3 separate regions of the Homo sapiens genome follow, and all the other regions are linked to region 3. The links are contacts of gene promoters, found by promoter capture Hi-C in human tissues and cell types (Jung and others, 2019). All regions are on one chromosome and are shown on one strand. Each heading gives the region's core, a stretch centred on a gene start or on the middle of the fragment in contact. The rest is flanking DNA. Distances are from core to core; before and after follow the strand shown.

Region 1 (3,981 bases), core at 1,298-3,797, 220 kb before region 3:
GATACGATGTCTTTTCCCAAATACAGGATTTTAATGATGTTGCCATATTTAAAACTTTGCTTTAAATGTACATTGTTCTGGTGATTCTGAATCTTTTTGCCTATTCAGACAGGGTGTGATTCTATGGAGTAAGTCATTCCTAGGATACACCCAGTTTCAAAAGATTCTAAGTCTCTGCATAGTGCCTCTTACTTGAATTCTTGCTGCTTAGGTTTCCATTTTAAAAGGCTGGCCACTGGGCTCAATGTTAGGTCATTAAAATAAGCTTAAGGATAGTTCTGTTCAGGTAACCTACAGAACAGTTTGTCTTGTTGTATTGTATATTTTTATGGAGGCTTAGGAGGAGCAACTCTCCAAGGGTGTACTCTGATTTATCTAAAATATCTTTTGCCTTTTGGCCAGGCGCAGTGGCTCACACCTGTAATCCCAGCACTTTGGGAGGCTGAGGTGGGTGGATCACTTAAGGTCAGGAGTTTGACTGGCCAACATGGTGAAACCCCGTCTCTACTGAATATAAAAAATTAGCTGGGCGTGGTGGCGGGCGCCTGTAATCCCAGCTACTCGGGAGGCTGAGGCAGGAGAATTGCTGGAATATGGGAGGCAGAGGTTGCACTGAGCCCAGATAGTGCCACTGCACTCTAGCCTGGGCGATAGAGTGAGACTCTGTCTCAAAAATAAATAAATAAATAAATATCTTTTGCTTTTTTGTGAGTGTCTGTCATGTGACACTTTTGTGAGGTCTTTCACATATTTATCTTTAATCTTTTTGAGAGTTTGGAAAGGTATTATCCTGCCATTTAAAGATGAGGAAAATCAAGTTGAGAGAAATTAAGAAACTTCCCCAAAGCCATGTAGTCTCCAGCTGCTAGAGATTTCAGGCCAGGATAGCCCATGCTCCTTCCCCTGTTGAAGCATCTGCCTTCGAGAAAATGACTCTGGCTATCTCAGACAGAAAAGGAATGATTTAGAAGCCTTTCCGGAGCCTCCAGATTATGGAGAAGTTTTGGAACTAGACAGGCTCCAAGGCTGTCAGGGCCAAGAAACAGGAAGTACAATAGCCGGTGTTTTAGGGAAACGATCTGGCCAGCATGCAGCCACCATTGCTGCTGGAAATCCATCCTAACTATCCCTCTGTTTGGGGTCACTTGCACCATACTGAGTGTTTGATGGGAAGGTCCAGCTGGCCAAGCCTAGGTCATATCTTACCTTTCCACTTCCAAAGGAGGAGGCAGAACACTGTCTTCATACATTTCCCTTAACAGGAAACGGTTGGGATGCCCTACAGCAGGAAAAAGGAGAGTGTCCACCACGTGGGAAAGAGACTCAAACTATTCCCTGAATGACAAGCTGTGGATAAACTTTCTTTTGTTTGTATTTGGTAATGTTTCCATTGCTAAAATATGCATGACCAAAAAACAGGTAGTTCAAGATAAATACCAAGCTAACCACTCTATTCTCTCATTTATCTGTCCTAGCCAATGGAAACCAAAATTAATCCTGCTGGGAACATTTTGAGCTGAGAGAGGGTGTAGGACATCTAGGTTGTTCTCTGAGATGTAAGCTTAAGAGATTTTTAAAGTGCATCTCTGCTAGGCAGAGGCATCTTCTCCTTAAATCTGTAGATGCTGCTCTGTAGTTAAAGTTATTAGAGTTCCTTCTTTGTGCTACAGTGCCACTCTGTTGTGGAACTTATCCAGTCATCAAAGACATTGCATGGTAAAGAATGTGTAATGAGTCTGCTCTTTACCAACTCATGGTGGCTAGCTTCTAGGAATTTCTTTCAAGTGTTCTGTCAAGGACTTCTCAGGACATTAGAAGGTGAAGATAGAAAAGAATTGCTTGCCTTTTACTTATGCCACAATGCCTACATTTTAGTGGTTTTTAAGTTTTTTACTTACTGACTTGTTCAGCGTTTGAAAGGTGTGGCAAGGCATTCTTTCTAGCAAGTAGTGAATTTCTTTTGTTTTGTTTTGTTTTGAGACAGTCTCGCTCTGTCACCCAGGCCAGGGTGCAGTGGCACGTGATCTCTGCTCACTGCAACCTCTGCCTCCCAGGTTCAGGCGATTCTTGTGCCTCAGCCACCAGAGTAACTGGGATTATAGGTGTGCGCCACCACACCTGGATAATTTTTGTATTTTTAGTAGAGACAGGGTTTCGCCATGTTGGCCAGGCTGGTCTCAAATGCCTGGCCTCAAGTGATCTGCCCCCCAAAGTGCTGAAATTACAGGCATGAGCCACTGCTCTTGGCAGCCTTGGGTGGTGAATTTCTAAGGCAATTAGATGCAAGCTCATTTAACTCTTGAGTAGTCTGAATAGTGAATATCAATAGCTATTTCAGAAGAGTCACTTTGGAGAGCGTTCCTCCAAATTCAGTATGTTGTAATCCAAAAATCCAGTACAAAATCATTGTTGCATTCATCAGAACTTTTTTTCCAATCTCTCTCCTCACTGTATTGTTTGCCCCATAGAAGAAGCAGGCCATCAGGACCTGATCTTACTTGGATTTGGCCATTTTCAATTTCTTTCTCTAGTAAAACTTTTCACCATTGTTCCTTAAAGATAGCAGTTGTCTGATTTGCATGCTGCTTCTATTTTTTATAAGCACTCAAAATAATTTCTTAAGATCTCAGCCACCCTTTTATTTTAACAGTTCTGTGAAATAATTGAAAGGCAGTAAGTAACAAAAAGAAGAAACTGCCAGGCGCGGTGGCTCACGCCTGTAATCCCAGCACTTTGGGAGGCCGAGGCGGGCAGATCACCTGAGGTCTAGAGTTCGAGACCAGCCTGACCAACATGGAGAAACCCCGTCCCTACTAAAAATACAAAATTAGCTGGGCCTGGTGGCGCATGCCTATAATCCCAGCTACTCAGGAGGCTGAGGCAGGAGAATCGCTTAAACCCGGGAGGCAGAGGTTGTGGTGAGCCAAGATCGCGCCATTGCACTCCAGCCTAGGCAACAAGAGTGAAACTCCATCTCAAAGAAAAAAAAAGAAGAAACTGCCAAGGACCTGTACAATCCTCAAATCAAGCTGATTTCAGAATAGCTTTTAGCTGAGTGTCCACTATAACCTTTCTCTTATCTCCAGTTTTGAAATCTCTGAATATTTGGGTATTTTGAAGTCTGCTACATGCAAGAAAGGTATTTGCCTGATCTGATCTTGTTACTGGAAAGGGTCTGGATCCAGATCCCAAGAGAGGGTTTTTGGACCTCGCGCAAGAAAGAATTTGGGGCGAATCCATAGAATAAAGTGTTTTCACAAGTTTATTAAAGAAACAGAAGAATGGCTACTCTATAGGCAGAGCAGTGGCGTGGGCTGCTCAACTGAGTATACTTAGTTATTTCTCGATTATATGCTAAACAGGGATGGATTATTCATGAGTTTTCTGGGAAAGGGACAGGCAATTCCTGGAACCAAGGGTTCCTCTCCTTTTTAGACTATATAGGGTAACTTCCAAACTGCCATGACATTGTAAAGTGTCATGGCACCTGTTAGAGTGTCTTTTAGCATGCTAATGCATTATAATTAGCATATAATGAACAGTGAAGATGACCAGAGGTCACTTTTGTTGCCATCTTGGTTTTGGTGGGTTTTGGCCAGCTTCTGGCTGGCTTCTTTATTGCATCCTGTTTTATCAGCAGGGTCTTTGTGACCTGTATCTTGTGCTGACCTCCTGTCTCATCCTGTGACTAAGAATGCCTAACCTCTTGGGAATGCAGCTGAGCAGCCCAGCAAGTCTAAGCCTCATTTTACCCTGCCCCTATTCAAGATGGAGTCTCTCTGGTTTGAATGCCTCTGACAATCTTGTGCTGATATACAAGTGTACTGACTGATCTTGGAATCAGAAGAATTTAGGTTCAAACCTGGCTCTGTTTCTTGGGCAAGTAATATATGCTTGGGCAAGCTGGTTGACCTCTTTGAGCCTTTGTTTCCTCTTAAAATGGAGTCTGATGCCACCAGCCTCATGATAATGTTAGTGAGA
Region 2 (3,832 bases), core at 33-2,532, 240 kb before region 3:
GTCCAGCTTTGGCTTGGCATCAGGGGGAGACCGTGGAAAGAGAGAGAGAGGGAGAGGGAGAGGAGGGAGAGGGAGAGGAGCAGTTTACTCATTTTGAAATAGGAATATTAAAGCTTATCTCAGAGGGGCCGAGCAGGATAGCTCACACCCGTAATCCCAATACTTGGGAGGCCAAGATGAGAGGATTATTTGAGGCTAGGAGTTCAAAACCAGTCTGGGGAACATAGCAAGACCCCATCTCTAAAAAAATAAAAAATAAAAAATCTTGTCTCAGAGGGAAACTATGAACACCAAATAAAGTAAGTGCAATTGTTACGGGGGGTGGGTGGCGGGGGTCCTTGTTCTTAGAACTCCCAAGATGGTGGCAGGCCACTTCCAAGATGGCGGCAAGCCTCTTGTTCTCTATCAGTGAAATTTCTGTGAGAGGACCCAGAGCATAGCTTCTTAAATGTTGCTTTTTCATCTTTCTCAGAAACCAGCATAATTTATAAGATCTGTAGAAATTCATTTCAGGGACCCTTTAAAGAATTATTCCTATTTCTGATTTCTGTTTCCTCTATTCTCTTAAGCATTGAAATCTCTTAGTTATCTACCCTCTAAAGCGAATCATACTCTGATCCCCACAGTAATGGCAATGTTGTTACTTCGACTCTGCTGGTTTAGAATGTGTTCTTTTAAAAAGCTATTTCCAGCTGGTCCTTGCATCATACTCCTACCTATATACTTCAGTCACATCCTTTTCAGTACAACCTCCAAATTTTGAAGACAGCCCGAGTGGTTTGGGGGAACCAAGAACATCTGTGGTATCACTTGGCCCAGCCATTGCTGTCTTAATAGTGAAAACGTCTGTTGCCTCTCATTTCCTTTATCCTTTTCTTTCTCCTGTCTTGTTCCATCCCATTCCATTCTTTTCTCTCCCTTCCCTTTGCCTCCTCCCTCTTTATATATATTTTATTACATATGATTATATATATATATATATATATATATATATCTGAAGACTTTCTGTCTCCATTTTTCTCTTTTTCTTCTATGTTTTCCCTGTAGCAGTAATCAAACTGGGAAAATAAAAAGAATTTTGCCATGAATCTGTCTAAAATAATGGAAATAGGCTGGGCACAGTGGCTCACACCTGTAATCCCAGCACTTTGGGAGGCCGAGGTGGGCAGATAGCCTGAGGTCAGGAGTTTGTGGCCAACATGGTGAAACCCCGTCTCTACTAAAAATATAAAAACTGGCTGGGTGTGGTGGCAGCACCTGTAGTCCCAGTTACTCGAGAGGCTGAGGTAGGAGAATTGCTTGAACCCAGGAGGTGGAGGTTGCAGTGAGCTAAGATCATACCACTGCACTCCAGCCTGGGTGATAGAGCGAGACTCCTCAAAAATAAGTAAATAAATAAACAAATAAAATAATGGGAGTAATATTTCTCTTCTAATTCCACTGAATTATAAATTTTGTTTATATTATTCCTGGTCAGTGCTCAAGGTATGAGGAATTAATTGTAACTAGCCAGATGTTGTGTAGAGACTACACACTAGCATAGTCTATTCCTTATGTGGCCTGTTCTCCAGCTGTCAGCCTGTTTTGTTTGTTTGTTTGTTTTTTTACTTTTTGCTACCAGCCCATGTAAGTCTCCTATTTCTAAATCTTTACTTCCTTCCAGAATCTAACCAGATTTTACCAGCTTCTTGAAGAGCTGGTTCTTTCATTAGGTTTTTAATGATAAACATACTTTGTGGGATGAGAATGGCCATCCATGAATTCCTGGAGGGCAGGAACTATTCCTTACTCATCTTTATTCTCCTAGTCCAGCGTGGTACCTGGCACAAGGTCCTTAGTCAGTATTTTCAGGCAAAGATAAATTGGTGCATCTTATTCTGAACTTTGTAATAGACATGTGCAACAAACTGATCATTGTGAAAATACAACTTTTGTGATATCAGTTTTCCTTTCCCAAAACAAAGCCTTGCTTACATAACAGAAACACTTTGCAACAACTTGTATGAATTCTGTCAGTTCTTGAGTGAGCTTCCAATGGGAAACTCTATCCTTTTATTCTCCTTGATATCAAATGGTGCTATCATATTTGTATCATAACTTTTTTTTAACAACAAACGTCTGTAATTATTTTATTTAAAACTTGTTAAATTATCCTATGGGTTTAAAGAAAGGAGTTAATTCATTTTTTTAAAGATTTTTCTCTTTTTAACACCTACCTCTTACACAGAAAGACAACTCTTTTTTTATGATAAAAGGAGCCCTTGAAAAAAAATGCACACATCCTTCTAATGTATTTCTATATAGACAGGAAAAACTATACATGTGGTTTTAAAAAAATCAATGATAACTCCTCTGGTCTATAAGAATATGGTTTGGCAATCAACTTTGTAACAGAATGATAAAAAGAAATTATTGATTGATTGCGAATTCTGTTATCCAAAGCTATCTCTTTGTATTGGAAACCTATAAAAATAACCAAAGATAATTCTTCATTAGAATCCTAATATCTATAAAATCAGACTAGGAAAATTTGAGTAATTAAGTGGTCAAGAATCTTTTATTCATTTTCCTTTTTCTCATTTTCTTTTAGAACTGCCATTGGATGTCCAGAATCCCCTGTAGTTGATAATGTTGGGAATAAGCTCTGCAACTTTCTTTGGCATTCAGTTGTTAAAAACAAATAGGATGCAAATTCCTCAACTCCAGGTTATGAAAACAGTACTTGGAAAACTGAAAACTACCTAAATGATCGTCTTTGGTTGGGCCGTGTTCTTAGCGAGCAGAAGCCTTGGCCAGGGTCTGTTGTTGACTCTCGAAGAGCACATAGCCCACTTCCTAGGGACTGGAGGTGCCGCTACTACCATGGGTAATTCCTGTATCTGCCGAGATGACAGTGGAACAGATGACAGTGTTGACACCCAACAGCAACAGGCCGAGAACAGTGCAGTACCCACTGCTGACACAAGGAGCCAACCACGGGACCCTGTTCGGCCACCAAGGAGGGGCCGAGGACCTCATGAGCCAAGGAGAAAGAAACAAAATGTGGATGGGCTAGTGTTGGACACACTGGCAGTAATACGGACTCTTGTAGATAAGTAAGTATCTGACTCACGGTCACCTCCAGTGGAATGAAAAGTGTTCTGCCCGGAACCATGACTTTAGGACTCCTTCAGTTCCTTTAGGACATACTCGCCAAGCCTTGTGCTCACAGGGCAAAGGAGAATATTTTAATGCTCCGCTGATGGCAGAGTAAATGATAAGATTTGATGTTTTTGCTTGCTGTCATCTACTTTGTCTGGAAATGTCTAAATGTTTCTGTAGCAGAAAACACGATAAAGCTATGATCTTTATTAGAGAATAGAGTAAATATGGAGTGAGTTTATGTTGCTAGCTACAATAGGAAATGGTTTCATGAAGGCTCACTGTTAATGGTACATGCCTGTCTATTCCACTGACCTCAGATTCAAGGTAAGTTGTTTTACCAAGAACATGGCTACAGGCAACTTCTCTTGGCAACATAAGGACTAAGGTCAAGGAGAGTTTTCATTATCCTTTATTTGATCCTTTATCCCTTATTTGACTATCTTTAATCCATTTAGGAAGCTTGTCAGTTGATACTGCAAGGCACACCTGTACCTGTTTTGTCTTTTCCTCTGCTTTGTCTACCTCTAAATACAAAATCATAGATTGAATAACAGTGAAATTAAAGGGCATCCAAGTAGAAAAAAACATTTAACTTAAGGTTGTATATTTCAGTAGTTAAGAGCACAAAGCTTAGAACCATGATGGGCCTAGCTCAAGTTCTGGCCCAGTGCCTTACTAACTGCATGAC
Region 3 (3,805 bases), core at 1,211-3,710:
ACTGAGCTTGTTGGGTACCTCTCCAACTCTGACTGAGGCACACACATGTGCATGGCCCTTCTAAAATGTTACTGGCAGGCAGTAAAAGCGGATGTCTGAGAACAGACTGTTTTTTAGGTGCCCAGTAAGCATCAAATCTTGAGGCATTTGGTCTCTCTTCTGGTGAAAGGGGACAAAAGCAAAAAATAACACTGAAGTTTGGGCTTCAGTTCAAAAAATTCTTTAACTCGGGTGCATAAAAGAGTTCCAAGAATACTGACAGTTATCAGAAAGGAAAATCCTAATTAAAATTAACTAACTGGGCTGGGTGCAGTGACTCACACCTGTAATCCCACACTTTGGGAGGCTGAAGCAAGTGGATCACCTGAGGTCAGGAGTTCAAGACCAGCCTGGCCAACATGGAGAAAACCCGTCTCTACTAAAAATACAAAGATTAGCTGGGCATGGTGGCGTGCACCTGTAATCCCAGCTACTTGGTAGACTGAGGTAGGCAGAATTGCTTGAACTCAGGAGGCGGACGTTGTAGTGGACCAAGATCTTGCCACTGCACTCCAGCCAGGGAGACAGAGTGAGACTCCATCTCAAAATAAAAAAAAATTAAATTAAAAACATAAAATTAACTAACTGAAGCTCTTGTGCACATACATGTCACTGCCTGGCCTCTGGGTGACCAGTACCAAGTGGGCCTAACCAGCCTGCTGTGCAATCCAAGTCAGCCATTGCCCCTCTCTGGGCCTCAGTTTCCCTGCCAGCTTTAGCAGAATGGTAGGAAGGCACAATTACAACCTGCAAATGAGACCTAAGAAACCTACTATGTGCCTGTCCCTACACGGGAGACAGACAAGAAGACACTTGTTCCCTGCCCTCAAGAGAACGCTCTGTCTAGACACTTAGACTAAGACCTTAGAGGTTTTTTTTTTTTTTTTTTTTTTTTTTTTTTTGGCAGAGTCTTGCTCTGTTGCCCAGGCTGGAGTGCAATGGCACAATCTTGGCTCACTGCAACCTCCGACTCCGGGGTTCAAGCGATTCTCCCGCCTCAGCCTCCCAAATAGCTGGGATTACAGGCACCCACCACCACACCCAGCTAATTTTTGTATTCTTTGTAGAGATGCGGTTTCGCCATGTTGCCCAGGCTGGTCTCGAACTCCTGAGCTCAAGTGATCCACACGCCGCAGCCTCCCAAAGTGCTGGGATTACAGGCATGAGCCTGGCCCAGAATTTTTTTTAAAAAGTGAGAATCAACAATGAAACAGGAACGTCTCCAGGCATTTGGCGTGTGTCAGGAATTAGGGTTTCAGAAAGGATACCCAAATGTTAGTTTCCACAGGAAAGGCTCATTCAAAGATGGATGGATAGAACTCAGAAACAAATCCTTATGGAGAGGAGTGTTTTACCTAAAACCAGAAATATGGATCTAAAATTTTAACCTTTGGGGTAAGTTTTGGCTTAGGAGGTCTTCCCCGCACCCGTGCAGGGGGGAGCCGGATATTCTGAAAAGACTAGATTTGACAAGGGGTGTGCAAAGCACAACTTTAACAGACACAATGATGGGGTCTGACTGCAAACACAAAATCGACAGAATCACATGCTCTTGTCGTCAGTTACTCTTAGCCCAAAAACCGTTTACTTCTTCCTACTAAGCCTTCTCTGATGACACCCCCGTGAAGTGCTCTGTTAGTGGCTAGACCGTGACCTCCTTGAGCCATCCAGAGCTTGGCACTCAGTAATGTCAGAATGAAGGGCACCAGCCTTTCCCGAACTTGCAGATCCTACAAATCACCCGAGGGAGTGGTTAAAATGAGATTCCTGGACCACACCCAGACCCACTCAATCAATCCTTCTGGACAAAGGCCTAGCTGTCTGTTCTAGTAACAAGCATCCTTCCGATCTGGATACTTAATTATATCAACTCAACACGCTGGGGGTTCGGACAAGTTGCAGGTTCGAAATTACAATCGTGAGCTCAGGTACCCCCCGACTCCAAGGCTTTCGTGCTTTGCTGCCAGGAACCCCCAGGGACCAAAACGTCACGGGGACTGAGGCCCAAGGTCACAACGATTGGCTACTGGTAGGACCGGGTCTCAGAACCAGGTCTCCCCGATCCCAAGCTCGGAGCCGTTTCTCCTCAGCGTGGTGTCCCCGGGGCCTCAGAGTAGGGCCGGCTGCGCAAGGGACGAGGCAGCCGGGGAACGGCAGAAATTCCCAGTCAGGACCCCAGGGAGGTTAGGGCCGGCCCTGGCCCCTCACACCGACTTCTCAGGAATAAACCAGCCGGGGCTTTCAGCGGGGCGGCCGTGGCTGCGTTCCCATCGAGGAACGGGGTGGGAAGAGAAAATGAGAGGATGTGGGAACGAGGGTGGGCCGGGAGGGGACAGTTGAGGGAGCTCTGGCGCTCAGCTGGCCCCCACCACTCTCACCTGCCGCCTGGGCTCGCTCCCGGCTTCTCTCCAGCCGTCGACTCCACGCCTTGCGCCTCTCGCGAGAGGAGGAGGCTCCACGGAGCGACGACTTCCGCCCTCCTTAGGGCCGTGGTCCCGTAGCTACCGGTCGCGTCGCCGTGGGCGACGTGCCCGCTTCCAAAATGGCGGCGGCGGCGGTATCTGGTGCGCTTGGCCGGGCGGGCTGGAGGCTCCTGCAGCTGCGATGCCTGCCCGGTGAGGGGGCTGCCAAGCCGGGGAGAGGCGGGGAGCGCGGAGGGGGCGCGAGGCCGGCTTCAGCTGGGTTCGACGGTGGGGGGAAGAGGCCGTTGGGGCGGCCCACGAGCAAGGTGAGGTGAAGGGCATCGGCGCGGGCTCGGGCGAGCCGCCTGGCTAGCTTCGGCCCTGCTCCGCTGTCTGTGAGGGGCAGATGCAGCGGGGCAGGGCCTGTCACCCCCATTTCATGGAGTTGGCAGAGCCTCAGAGAGGGCTCGGGGTACGAAAGTCACGCAGCCTGAGCCTGTTGGTTACAGAACTGGCAGTCGCAGACCCATTCTCAAGTCCATTGCCAAGTCCACTGGAAGGACAGGTGGACACGGCCACAGAGAGCCTAGTCCATTGTTTCCCGAAAGCCAGCCGTTTCCTCACCACTTCACGAATTCTGTGATACTCTCTTACCACCTTTGCCACTATGTACTCAGTATTTTTATTTTTAAATAGGAGTTCTTAAAGAGGAAACTTTATATCATTGTCATAAATGGAAAACTAATATCGCCTTCCTTAATTAGAACGTATGCATTAACACTTTAGCATACATACATAACTGATGAAACGTTCACCTGTATTTCACCTAAAATCTTCTCATGACCCTCAGTGGTACTACAGTCATACTTTGCATCTGCTCCTTCCTTTTCAAAGTTTTGCGGATATTTGTGCCGTATCTTTCAGTACATGTATTAAAATATTGATATTTTGGCACATACTATTCTGTTTCTTTTTTTTCTTTTTTTTTTTTTTCTGAGACAGGGTCTGGCTCCTCAGCCTCCCAAGGAGCTGGGACTACAAGTGCGTGCCACCCTACTTGGCTTAATTTTGTTGTTGAGACAGAGTCTCACTCTGTCACCCAGGCTGGAGTGCAGTGGTACAATCTCGGCTCACTGCAGCCTCTACCTCCTGGGTTCAAGTGATTCTCCTGCCTCAGCCTTCCTAGTAGCTGGGGTTGTGCCACCATGCCCAGCTAATTTTTTATTTTTAGTAGACGGGGTTTCACCATGTTGGCCAGGCTAGTCCAAAACTCCTGACCTCAAGTTATCTGCCTGCCTCAGCCTCCCAAAGTGTTGGGATTACAGGTATGAGCCACCGCCTAGCCCCCTTTTGTTGTATTTATA

Evidence for each region. Contacts are between HindIII fragments. The study calls those that stand out against the background at their distance.
Region 1: a fragment that was not itself captured here is called in contact with the fragment with the promoter of CIAPIN1 in region 3 in 3 of the 25 tissues and cell types used here (adrenal gland, liver and lymphoblastoid cells).
Region 2: a contact is called between a fragment that was not itself captured here and the fragment with the promoter of CIAPIN1 in region 3, in 1 of the 25 tissues and cell types used here (liver).

The regions. Positions count from the first base shown.
Region 1 is chr16:57,223,102-57,227,082 of GRCh38, forward strand. The region is part of intron 10 of RSPRY1 (ring finger and SPRY domain containing 1); the gene reads left to right. Among named protein-coding and RNA genes, the nearest start is that of ARL2BP, 20 kb to the right of the region's middle. The HindIII fragment of the contact is 5,127 bases long and covers 1-3,981 here.
Region 2 is chr16:57,201,914-57,205,745 of GRCh38, forward strand. RSPRY1 (ring finger and SPRY domain containing 1) reads left to right here. Exons shown (of 15, transcript NM_133368.3): 2 at 2,591-3,095. The coding sequence starts at 2,746. Among named protein-coding and RNA genes, the nearest start is that of RSPRY1, 18 kb to the left of the region's middle. The HindIII fragment of the contact is 4,812 bases long and covers 1-3,688 here.
Region 3 is chr16:57,444,925-57,448,729 of GRCh38, forward strand. It overlaps CIAPIN1 (cytokine induced apoptosis inhibitor 1), which reads right to left and starts at 2,461. Exons shown (of 9, transcript NM_020313.4): 1 at 2,418-2,461. COQ9 (coenzyme Q9) reads left to right here and starts at 2,555. Exons shown (of 9, transcript NM_020312.4): 1 at 2,555-2,654. The coding sequence starts at 2,582. RefSeq lists an enhancer at 2,373-2,667. The HindIII fragment of the contact is 8,205 bases long and covers 1-3,805 here.